Regions from separate parts of the Homo sapiens genome. Here all the other regions are linked to region 3. Evidence: promoter capture Hi-C in human tissues and cell types (Jung and others, 2019). All regions are on one chromosome and are shown on one strand. The core of a region is centred on a gene start or on the middle of the fragment in contact, and the rest is flanking DNA. Distances in the headings are between cores, read along the strand shown. Region 1 holds the start of DNAH10OS (dynein axonemal heavy chain 10 opposite strand). Region 2 holds the start of PITPNM2 (phosphatidylinositol transfer protein membrane associated 2). Region 3 overlaps EIF2B1 (eukaryotic translation initiation factor 2B subunit alpha).

Evidence for each region. Contacts are between HindIII fragments. The study calls those that stand out against the background at their distance.
Region 1: the fragment with the promoter of DNAH10OS here is called in contact with a fragment that was not itself captured in region 3 in 4 of the 25 tissues and cell types used here (bladder, dorsolateral prefrontal cortex, lymphoblastoid cells and 1 more).
Region 2: the fragment with the promoter of PITPNM2 here is called in contact with a fragment that was not itself captured in region 3 in 3 of the 25 tissues and cell types used here (aorta, dorsolateral prefrontal cortex and heart right ventricle).

The regions. Positions count from the first base shown.
Region 1 is chr12:123,933,645-123,936,445 of GRCh38, forward strand. DNAH10OS (dynein axonemal heavy chain 10 opposite strand) reads right to left here and starts at 1,340. Exons shown (of 2, transcript NR_187476.1): 1 at 421-1,340. It overlaps DNAH10 (dynein axonemal heavy chain 10), which reads left to right. Exons shown (of 79, transcript NM_001372106.1): 78 at 977-1,122; 79 at 1,691-2,070. The coding sequence ends at 1,837. CCDC92 (coiled-coil domain containing 92) reads right to left here. Exons shown (of 5, transcript NM_025140.3): 5 at 1,982-2,801. The HindIII fragment of the contact is 2,982 bases long and covers 296-2,801 here.
Region 2 is chr12:123,149,737-123,152,583 of GRCh38, forward strand. PITPNM2 (phosphatidylinositol transfer protein membrane associated 2) reads right to left here and starts at 1,354. Exons shown (of 26, transcript NM_020845.3): 1 at 1,017-1,354. It also overlaps a transcript of MPHOSPH9 not described here. RefSeq lists silencers at 908-997, 1,098-1,237, 1,258-1,517, 1,538-1,737. The HindIII fragment of the contact is 7,714 bases long and covers 1-2,847 here.
Region 3 is chr12:123,621,323-123,624,082 of GRCh38, forward strand. EIF2B1 (eukaryotic translation initiation factor 2B subunit alpha) reads right to left here. Exons shown (of 9, transcript NM_001414.4): 8 at 1,314-1,439; 9 at 1-598. The coding sequence ends at 434. Among named protein-coding and RNA genes, the nearest start is that of SNORA9B, 6.0 kb to the left of the region's middle. RefSeq lists an enhancer at 55-1,254. The HindIII fragment of the contact is 7,939 bases long and covers 1-2,760 here.

The DNA.
Region 1 (2,801 bases), core at 90-2,589, 310 kb after region 3:
ATATTTCCTGTGTCTCTGCACTGCCCATGTCTTAACACCTCTGAGGGTGGATACGGAAGTTTCTCTTCCACTTTCTCCGTTGAGACCTGGGGTCTATGGCAGGGGAGACCTGAACCATGTTCACTCTGCTAGCTCATGGCAAGTGGGCTCCTAGGTCAGAATTAGCTCTTGCAAAAACCATCAGGTGGCTTTCTTGTAACCCCTGACGGGGCCAGGGGCATGGGAGCCACAGAGCAGCATGGACTAACTTGGTTGGAACTCTTTGATTATGCCAGAACTTCAGGTCCCTTAGACATTGGTTACTGACTGTGCAAATGAGAGCTGGAAACTGCTGTTTCCCCGGGTCCATGTTGTCTTAGAGTTCTTTTAACTGCAAGGAACAAAAGCTCTTTTGAGATGGCTTAAGGACTGGGGACTTACGGTAAAGATGCAGGGACTCTCCAGGTCTCAGTGGCAGGGGAGGTGGCAGGTGTCCGGGCCACCACTCTCTCTGGGGCCACAGGAGTGTGTTCCTCTCTTTGCACATCTGCTGGGTCCTCCTCCCCGGAGACCACTTTCTCTGTGAGGCTTCGACTTCCTGCTCCCCAGCCACTTCGGCTCACAGGGTAGCTGGGGTTGCCATGGTGCCCATTCTGACTCTGGGACCATGCATCTTTCTAGCCTGGGGGCCCAGGGTGGTCTAAGTCCGTGGGCCTTGATGCCCCAGGAATGAGGATTCCTGGGGGAGAGGCCACCGCCCCACACCCATTTCTCTGGGCCATGGGGCAGGGCCACAGGGTCTCCTGTCTGGGCTGCTCCTCCACAGAGGGAAGGTGGGCAGGACAGAAATGCTGGAGAAGGGCCTGGGCTGTCCCCAATGCGCTGGGGAGGAGGCCAGCCAGTGGCCTGTGTGTCGCTGTGTGTGCGCCTGATAGAGCCACTCCGTGGCAGGCTGTGCATGCTCCAGTTGTATCCAGTCTCTGCCTTGTGTCCCTAGGATGCTTTGTCTCAGGACTGTACCTGGAAGGTGCTGACTGGGATATAGAAAAAGGATGTCTTATCAAGAGCAAACCCAAGGTGCTGGTTGTGGACCTGCCGATCCTGAAGATCATCCCCATTGAAGCCCATCGCCTCAAGCTGCAGGTGAAGGTCCCAGCCCCTCCTCTCTGACACCAGGGCCCTTCCTCTTCTGACTGTAGTTATGGCTGAGGTGGTTTCCAACAGTCCTACTTTTTAAAACAGGGGTGCCTAAGCTTTATGGGCTGGGGAGAGTCTTGGAGCCGTGATAAAAGCTACGGATAGCTGCTTCCTGGAAAAGGCGCGGCTGTATGTGTGTGTGGATGCCGGTCCTTCCAGAGGTGTCAGGCTCAAGCTGTGATCCTGTGGTCTAGACTAACCAAGGGGAGACTCCCTCCCTTCTTGCAAAATGCTGCAGACATTGCCTGAGTCATAAAGTGGTTCCCGCTGGTGTGGACAGCAGATGTCTTCTGCTCTGCCTGGGCCAGGACCCACTTTTAACCAGGGTGTCAGTGTGAAGCCAGGTCCCCGTGAAGCTGGCGGAGGGTGGCCCTGAGCAGCCCCAGCCTTGTGCGTGTTCTCAGGTGCAGTCTTGCACAGGGGCCCCTGCCTGTCAAGACTTACACTGCACCTCTGCCTTTATCCCTCTGCACCCTCTCTCCGTGGGGGCATCTCACCTGCCTTTCCCTTGCAGAATACTTTCCGGACCCCCGTCTACACCACCTCCATGAGAAGGAACGCCATGGGAGTCGGCTTGGTTTTTGAAGCTGATCTCTTTACCACGAGGCACATTTCTCACTGGGTGCTGCAAGGAGTATGCCTCACCCTGAATTCTGATTAACCTTTGGGTGAAGAAAACTGCTTAATGAATTCGGAGCCTGGGGTTGTCAGAGTGATCGGGTCTGCTGTCATTTCTTGGGGCCTCTCAAGAGGCAGGAGGGGGACTGACACTGATTTTTCATTTGAAATCAGCCACTTAAATCTCTTTCCATACAAATTAACCTGAATGGTTTTGTTTTTAATACTACTTTTTAAAAGGAATTTATATAATCAAAAAGTAAATATTGGAGAGTATTTTAAGATGTGTGGAGTTTTCTTTTCCTTCTCAGAGAAAACACTTGATTAGGCAAAAGTGCCTGGCATACATAGCATTGGCACAAGTGAGAATCCTAATGTAATTTCCAAAGGTGTGTTTTCGATGATCCAGGTCTGTTTCAGCAGATGCTCCTTTTTGGCAAGAAGGGCTGATGATGTCGGGCACAGAGCAGAAGTGACCAGTCACCTGGAGCCACTTCTCCCCCTTCCAGAACTCTCTGGCCCTAGCTTCTTTGGCTCTGACCTGCTACGGCGACTGTGAAGTTGTTGAGCTTAGTGTTTAGTTCCTGCATGAGCTTCTACCCCCAGCCTGCCTGGGTCTGTGTGGGGTCAGGTAAGGACACAGAACCTCCAGGACCAGTGGTCACTGGGCACCCCTTCCCTCTGTGCACCATGAGGCTGGCCTGGAGCCCTGGCTGGCCACCTGGAGGTGAGGGGTGGCTTCACTCCATGAGGGAGGAGAGGGGCTAGCACGGGCAGCACAGTGGGCAGGGGCCATCAGAGGCAAAAGCAGCTTCCCACAGAAGCTCAGGAGCGCAGCACATTCTAAGGACTAGCTCTGGGCCGGGAGGAGGCCGGAGTCGCTTCTGGGACCTGTGATTGCTCTCCCTCCTGCAGTCTCCTAGCCCTCCTTCAGGTGTTTGTTTAATAAAAGACACAAAACAGAAGGAAGGCAGGTTTAGAAAATAAAGTTTGTTGGGATCTTAAAC
Region 2 (2,847 bases), core at 104-2,603, 470 kb before region 3:
TGGATGTTAGGGGAGATTCAGATGAAGGGGAGCACTTACTGCCTTCCCTCCAGAAGTGGGGGGTCTATCCTAGCAGCTCTGGTCACTCCCAGGTGGAGGCCGGGGAGAGAGCTGGTTGTGGACAAAGACAGATGTTCCAGTGAGGTCTCCTTTGAAGAATCCCGACTCTGGGTGGGGGAGGCAGGTAGGCCGGGGTGTTTGGAGAGGCACCCAGCCCACACTTCAGTGGGAGGGAGAGGAGTGCAGGATGTCTCTGCAGGAGCAAGTCGGTGGAAAGGGGACAAGCCTGGAGGACTTGCCTTGAAATGACATTTGCACCGCGCGCACTATGTTCACCTGGAGTGGCCGTTTGGGATTTCTTGCGGGGAGGCAGTGCACACTGGGGCGGGGGACACTGAACTTTCCCTCTCCCCAAGGCCCCCCGATCAGCCCTGCCACGGATAAGAAAGGATTCGGGGTGGGAAGAAGACAGAGCCGGCACCCCATTACCACACGAAGGGGGCACTGAGGATGGAGACGGGCCACACCCCAACCCTGGGCCCCCGACAAGCAGAGGCCACGGCCCGGGCCTGGGGACGTTCAGCTGGAGGCGGGAAGCAGAGAAGGCGGGCCGGGGGCTCACCTCCGCTTCCTCCCGATAGCCCCTTCCTCGCCCTGGCACCGGCACTGCCCACGCCTGCCCCCCGACCGCTATGACACTTGTCCCTGGCGGGGGTCCCCCACGCGGTCGCGACCGACGGAAATTCGGAAATCAGCGTTTCGGGCACGGATCCAGGGCCGGCGACTCACTGAGGCCAGGCTCGGGCGGTCTCCCGAGCGGGGCTCCCGTACGCCACACCCTCCTCCCTGCCCGGGTCTCCGCTCCCTCCTCCAGCCCCCGGCGGGCTGGAGGCTCGGCGGGCGGGCGGGCCGGGGCCTCTCTGGGAGCCGCCGCCCAGATCCCCAGGTCCCCGGCCAGCGCCCGGCACTGCGGGACTCACCGCGGGCCTGCGGAGCGGCCGCCCGGACGCACTCACCCCGCTCGGCGCGGCCGCGGGCTCTGTCCTCTTCGGGGCCCCGGCTGGGCCGCCGCCACCTCACGCCGCCTCACGGGGAGCGCCCGCCCCGCGGCCCCGGCCCGGCCGGCTGCGCCCCGCGCGCCCCCGCCGCCTGCTGGCCCCGGGCGAGCGGCAGAGCCCCGGCGGGCATTGCTCCCGAGCGTCGCAGGCGGGCGGCGGCGGCGCACGTGCTGGCGGGCGGCTCTCGCTGAGGCGGCCGCGAGCTGAGAAGGAAGCGCCGGGCGGGCGGCCGGGGCCGGCTGGACAGCTCTACGCCGCGGCGCCGCGGTGCCCCGCGCACCCCAGCGGCCGCTGCTGCCCGCGCGCGCCGGGCCGGGCTCGCATTCCCTCAGTGGCGGCGGCGCCTCCTCAGGCCGCGCGGGGGAGCGGCGGCGGCGGCGGCGGGGGCGCGTCCCTGCGGAGTCTCGGCCCGGCCCCGCCGCCTCCGCCGGAAGAAACCTCTCCGACTCGGGCAGCCCGCCTGGTTCCTCAGACCTGCCGCGGCGACCCCGCTCCTCCCCGGCTCGCCCGTGTCCTCAGGGCCCGGGACTGGACTCGGGGGCGGCGGCGCGGATCCCCGCCCCGGGCTCCTCGCCCACCGTCCGCAGCAGCCGAGCGCACTCGGGGGCGGGAACCGGCCGACTTGCGGCCACTGTGACTCTTAAAACAGCCTCATTTTAAAAAATGAAGTTTCTTAGGAGCGAAATGGTAAACCAGGGAGGGCAGAGCGCAGCGGGCAGCTCACCGAAGCCCAGCCCCGGGCGCGGTGCTCGCCACACGGTGGGTCCGCGCTCTCCCCTCAGGACGCCCGGGCCGCGGCCCAGGGAACGGCAGAGCCGGGAGCGCAGCCGTCCCGGTCCCCACCTCAGGGAGTAGCTGGAAGAGGATCACGAACAGTTTAATCCGGATGATCTGGCACGACAGGGCTCTCCAATGGGAAGAGCCCCCGGTGGGGGAGCGCCTGGTGACATTCCTTAAAAACATGAGGTGTTTGTTAGGTTGAGCCAGGGTGGACTTGTTTGGCAAAATCTGAAGTCATGGAACTAAAGAGAGCACACCTAAAACTTAGTGATGTGTGACCCATCCCTACTTGTCACCTTATAAGGCTGAGGAGACGGCGGTGCTCCCCTGGAGGAGAGAGGACAAGCTAAAATTAAGGCGGCCTAGATGACTCCAGATGAAGCCGGGGAGGCCGAGCCCCTGACAGCTGCTCACCTCCTGGGGTCACGGCAGAACCCAACTGAACGGGCCAGGAAGGCCATCGTTCCCGACTCGCCTCCAGGTGCCCCTGACCATGACCACGCAGAGGAGGACCAAGGCGTACCACCATCACCTAGAACGCTTCAGCTCCTTCCCTCCACCAAGAGGTGCCCTAGGATCCATCCAGAAAGATCTGCGGAGCCCACAGAGTCCCAACGGGAACTGTGCTCCTGGATGGACGCCCCTTAACCCATAACTCAAGGACTTCTCTATGCCTGGGACTTAAAATCACCAACAACCCGCTCCTGCAGCCAGCTAGCAGAAATAAACACACAAAGGCCACACGCCAGTTCACAGCCACAAGTATTTATTGAGTGCCTGTAGTGCAAGAAAGAGAGATGGTCCCTGCTCCCGCGGAGCTTACAGCTTCACGACTCCAGCATCTGGCTAGATTCAGAAACAACTGCAGCAAGCACTTGTCTACCCACCAGCAGCACTGTAAAAAGCACATTTCTCACATTATCGGTCACTGTTACAGTGAAATTGTTAGATGTAAAAATTATCCTTGAAATCTGTAGTCATAGAGATGACATGGTACATAATGTCCAGC
Region 3 (2,760 bases), core at 182-2,681:
CAAGGCACCGCGTGTAACGTCCTGACCAGCTGTTGGTCATTTGTGGCAGAGGGGTGTGGCTGCTTTTCGCCTGCATCTCGCGTGCTTTAGGCAGATCAGTCTGGAGTGCAGGGGAGGATGAAGACAGGTGGACTTGGGCTCATCTTTCATCAGTTAAGTAGCCAATTATCTAACTTGTATTTCTGGAAACTGAAAAGGAAAGTTTCTAGAAACCGTAAGAACAATTTAAGTTGGGATTTAGAATAGCTGACACATTTTTAGATGGGACTGAAATGAGTAAGAAAGGTTCTCCAAGATGTATGATTTTAAGTCCTTACTCCATAAATCTTCATTAAACACATCTCAGTTTTGGCCTGACTCACTGGGGTGTCAAGCAGCTACTCACCCTGCCTCAACTACGTAAGCTGCACCTTGGCAGGAAAGGGCTCACAGGTTACAGATAGAGCTTGATGAGCTCATCGCTGACTGCTGAGGGTGTCAGCACGCCCAGGTCTGTAAACAGCAGAGTGATTAAGGAAGGGGCAGTGTAGTCGACCCACGGATGCTCCTCTTTGAGGTCTTGTCCAGTCTGCGCGACCTTGAGAGTGTCTGCCTTATACTGAGGAGAGAAGTACACATTAGTCGGCACTGAATATTTAGTGCTCTGACCTGGTAGGGCCTTGGTGTGAGTGATCAGTGTGCTACTTCCTGAGACTGCTCTCTGAAAATGGGAGAAACTAAGCTATGCAGGACACTAGAGACGAGGGCAGAGTTGTGGCCATGAGCCAGATCATGGCAGTGTGCTGGCTGAGAGCTGTAGTGTAACAAACTTAAATCCCATGTCCCCTCATTCTCATGCCGGATTAACTTCTCCAGACCTCTCAAGGGAAGATCGAGAGTCACAATAGAGAGCTTGCAGCGTGCCAGGGACTGTGCTAAGATTATCTTAGAATCCTCATGACCCTGTCAGATACTGCTATGCCATTTTACAGACAAGAAAACCGGTTCAGAGGTTGAAATGAAAGGACTTGCCTCAACTCGCACAGTTTGTAAGTTGTGGTGATGGGAGCTGAGCTCAGTTAAGCCCAAAGCTGGGACTTACCCACCAGCTTCGGGCTTCCTCTCCACCCATCTATGGTGCTACTTAAAGAGACTGAAAGACTGAAGTTCTAGGGACAAATGTGTGAGTCCAATCACCAATTTATCTTTGTATTCCAAGTGTTGGGGAAAGTAGCAATAGGAAGTGAAAAAATTACTGGAACATTCTTAGGACTACAATTTCCAAAGGTTTCTGTTTAGACTTTAGTACCCCTTCAAATATGTAAAACTCTTGCCTTAAACTTATCTGGGACGTCTTGCTGGTTTAGTGGAAAGAGCCGGACAAACTTGAAACTTTCTGCAACCACATAGAAAGGTTTGTTCTGTGCTTTGGCACACACAGCCATCTGGTTGGTTCCAATCTGGGAAGGCAGAAAATGGAATGGATGAGCTCTAGAGTGCATCTGAAGTAGAAGCCACAGAAAAGCGGGCCGGGCACAGTGGTGCATGCCTGTATTCCAGCATTTTGGGAGGCCGAGGTGGGTGGATCACCTGAACCCATGAGTTTGGGACCAGCCTAGGCAACACGGTGAGACCTCGTCTCAATTACAATAAAGGAACAATTAAAAAACAGCAATAGAAAGTTATGTATATAATATAGATATACATATATCTAATACATATATTAGATATATCTAATTCTGACTTTGGAATCAAAAAAATAAATGTTTCTCAAAGGATATAGAAACAGCCACTAGAGGCTGGATGTGGTGGCTCACGCCTGTAATCCCAGCACTTTGGGAGGCCGAGGTGGGTGGATCACCTGAGGTCAGGAGTTTGAGACCAGCTGGCCAATATAGGGAAACCCCATCTCTACTAAAAATACAAAAAATTAGCTGGGCATGGTGGGATGGGGGGTGCCTGTAATCCCAGCTACTAGGGAGGCTGAAGCAGGAGACTCGCTTGAACCCGGGCACTGGAGGTTGCAGTGAGCCAAGACTGTGCCATTGCACTCCAGCCTGGACAGCAAGAGTGAAACTCCATCTCAAAAAATAAAAAAATTTAAAAAAACAAGTGTTGGCAAGGATGTAGAGAAATTGGAACCTTTGTGCTTTGCTAGTGGGAATGTAAAGTAGTGCAGCTGCTGTGGAAAATCATTAGTTTCTGAAAGTTAAATATATAGTTACCATGTGACTCAACACTCTGCCTGCAGACCTCCGCCTCCCAGGTTCAAGCGATTCTCCTGCGTCAGCCTGCCAAGTAGCTGGGATTACAGGCACCCGCCACCATGCCCAGCTAATTTTTTGTATTTTTAGTAGATATGGGGTTTCACCATGTTGGCCAGGCTGGTCTCGAACTCCTGACCTCAGATGATCTACCTGCCTCAGCCTCCCAAAGTGCTGGGATTATAGGCGTGAGCTACTACGCCCGGCCTTATGTTACATATATTTTAACTAAAAAAAGCTTTCATGAAGCTTTTCTAAATTAAATAATGGAGAGAGAGATTGTAATAAATTGAGGTCAAATGTGCTCAATTAAAATGAAAACAAATGACAGGCCGGCCACAGTGGCTCATGCCTGTAATCCTAGCACTTTGGGAAGTGGAAAGATTGCTTCAGGCTAGGAGTTCAAGACTGCAGTAAGCTATGATCACTGTACTACACTACAGCCTGGGCAACAGAGTGAATGTGTCTCTATTTTAAAATATATATAATATTTATATATAAATACACGTATTTTATA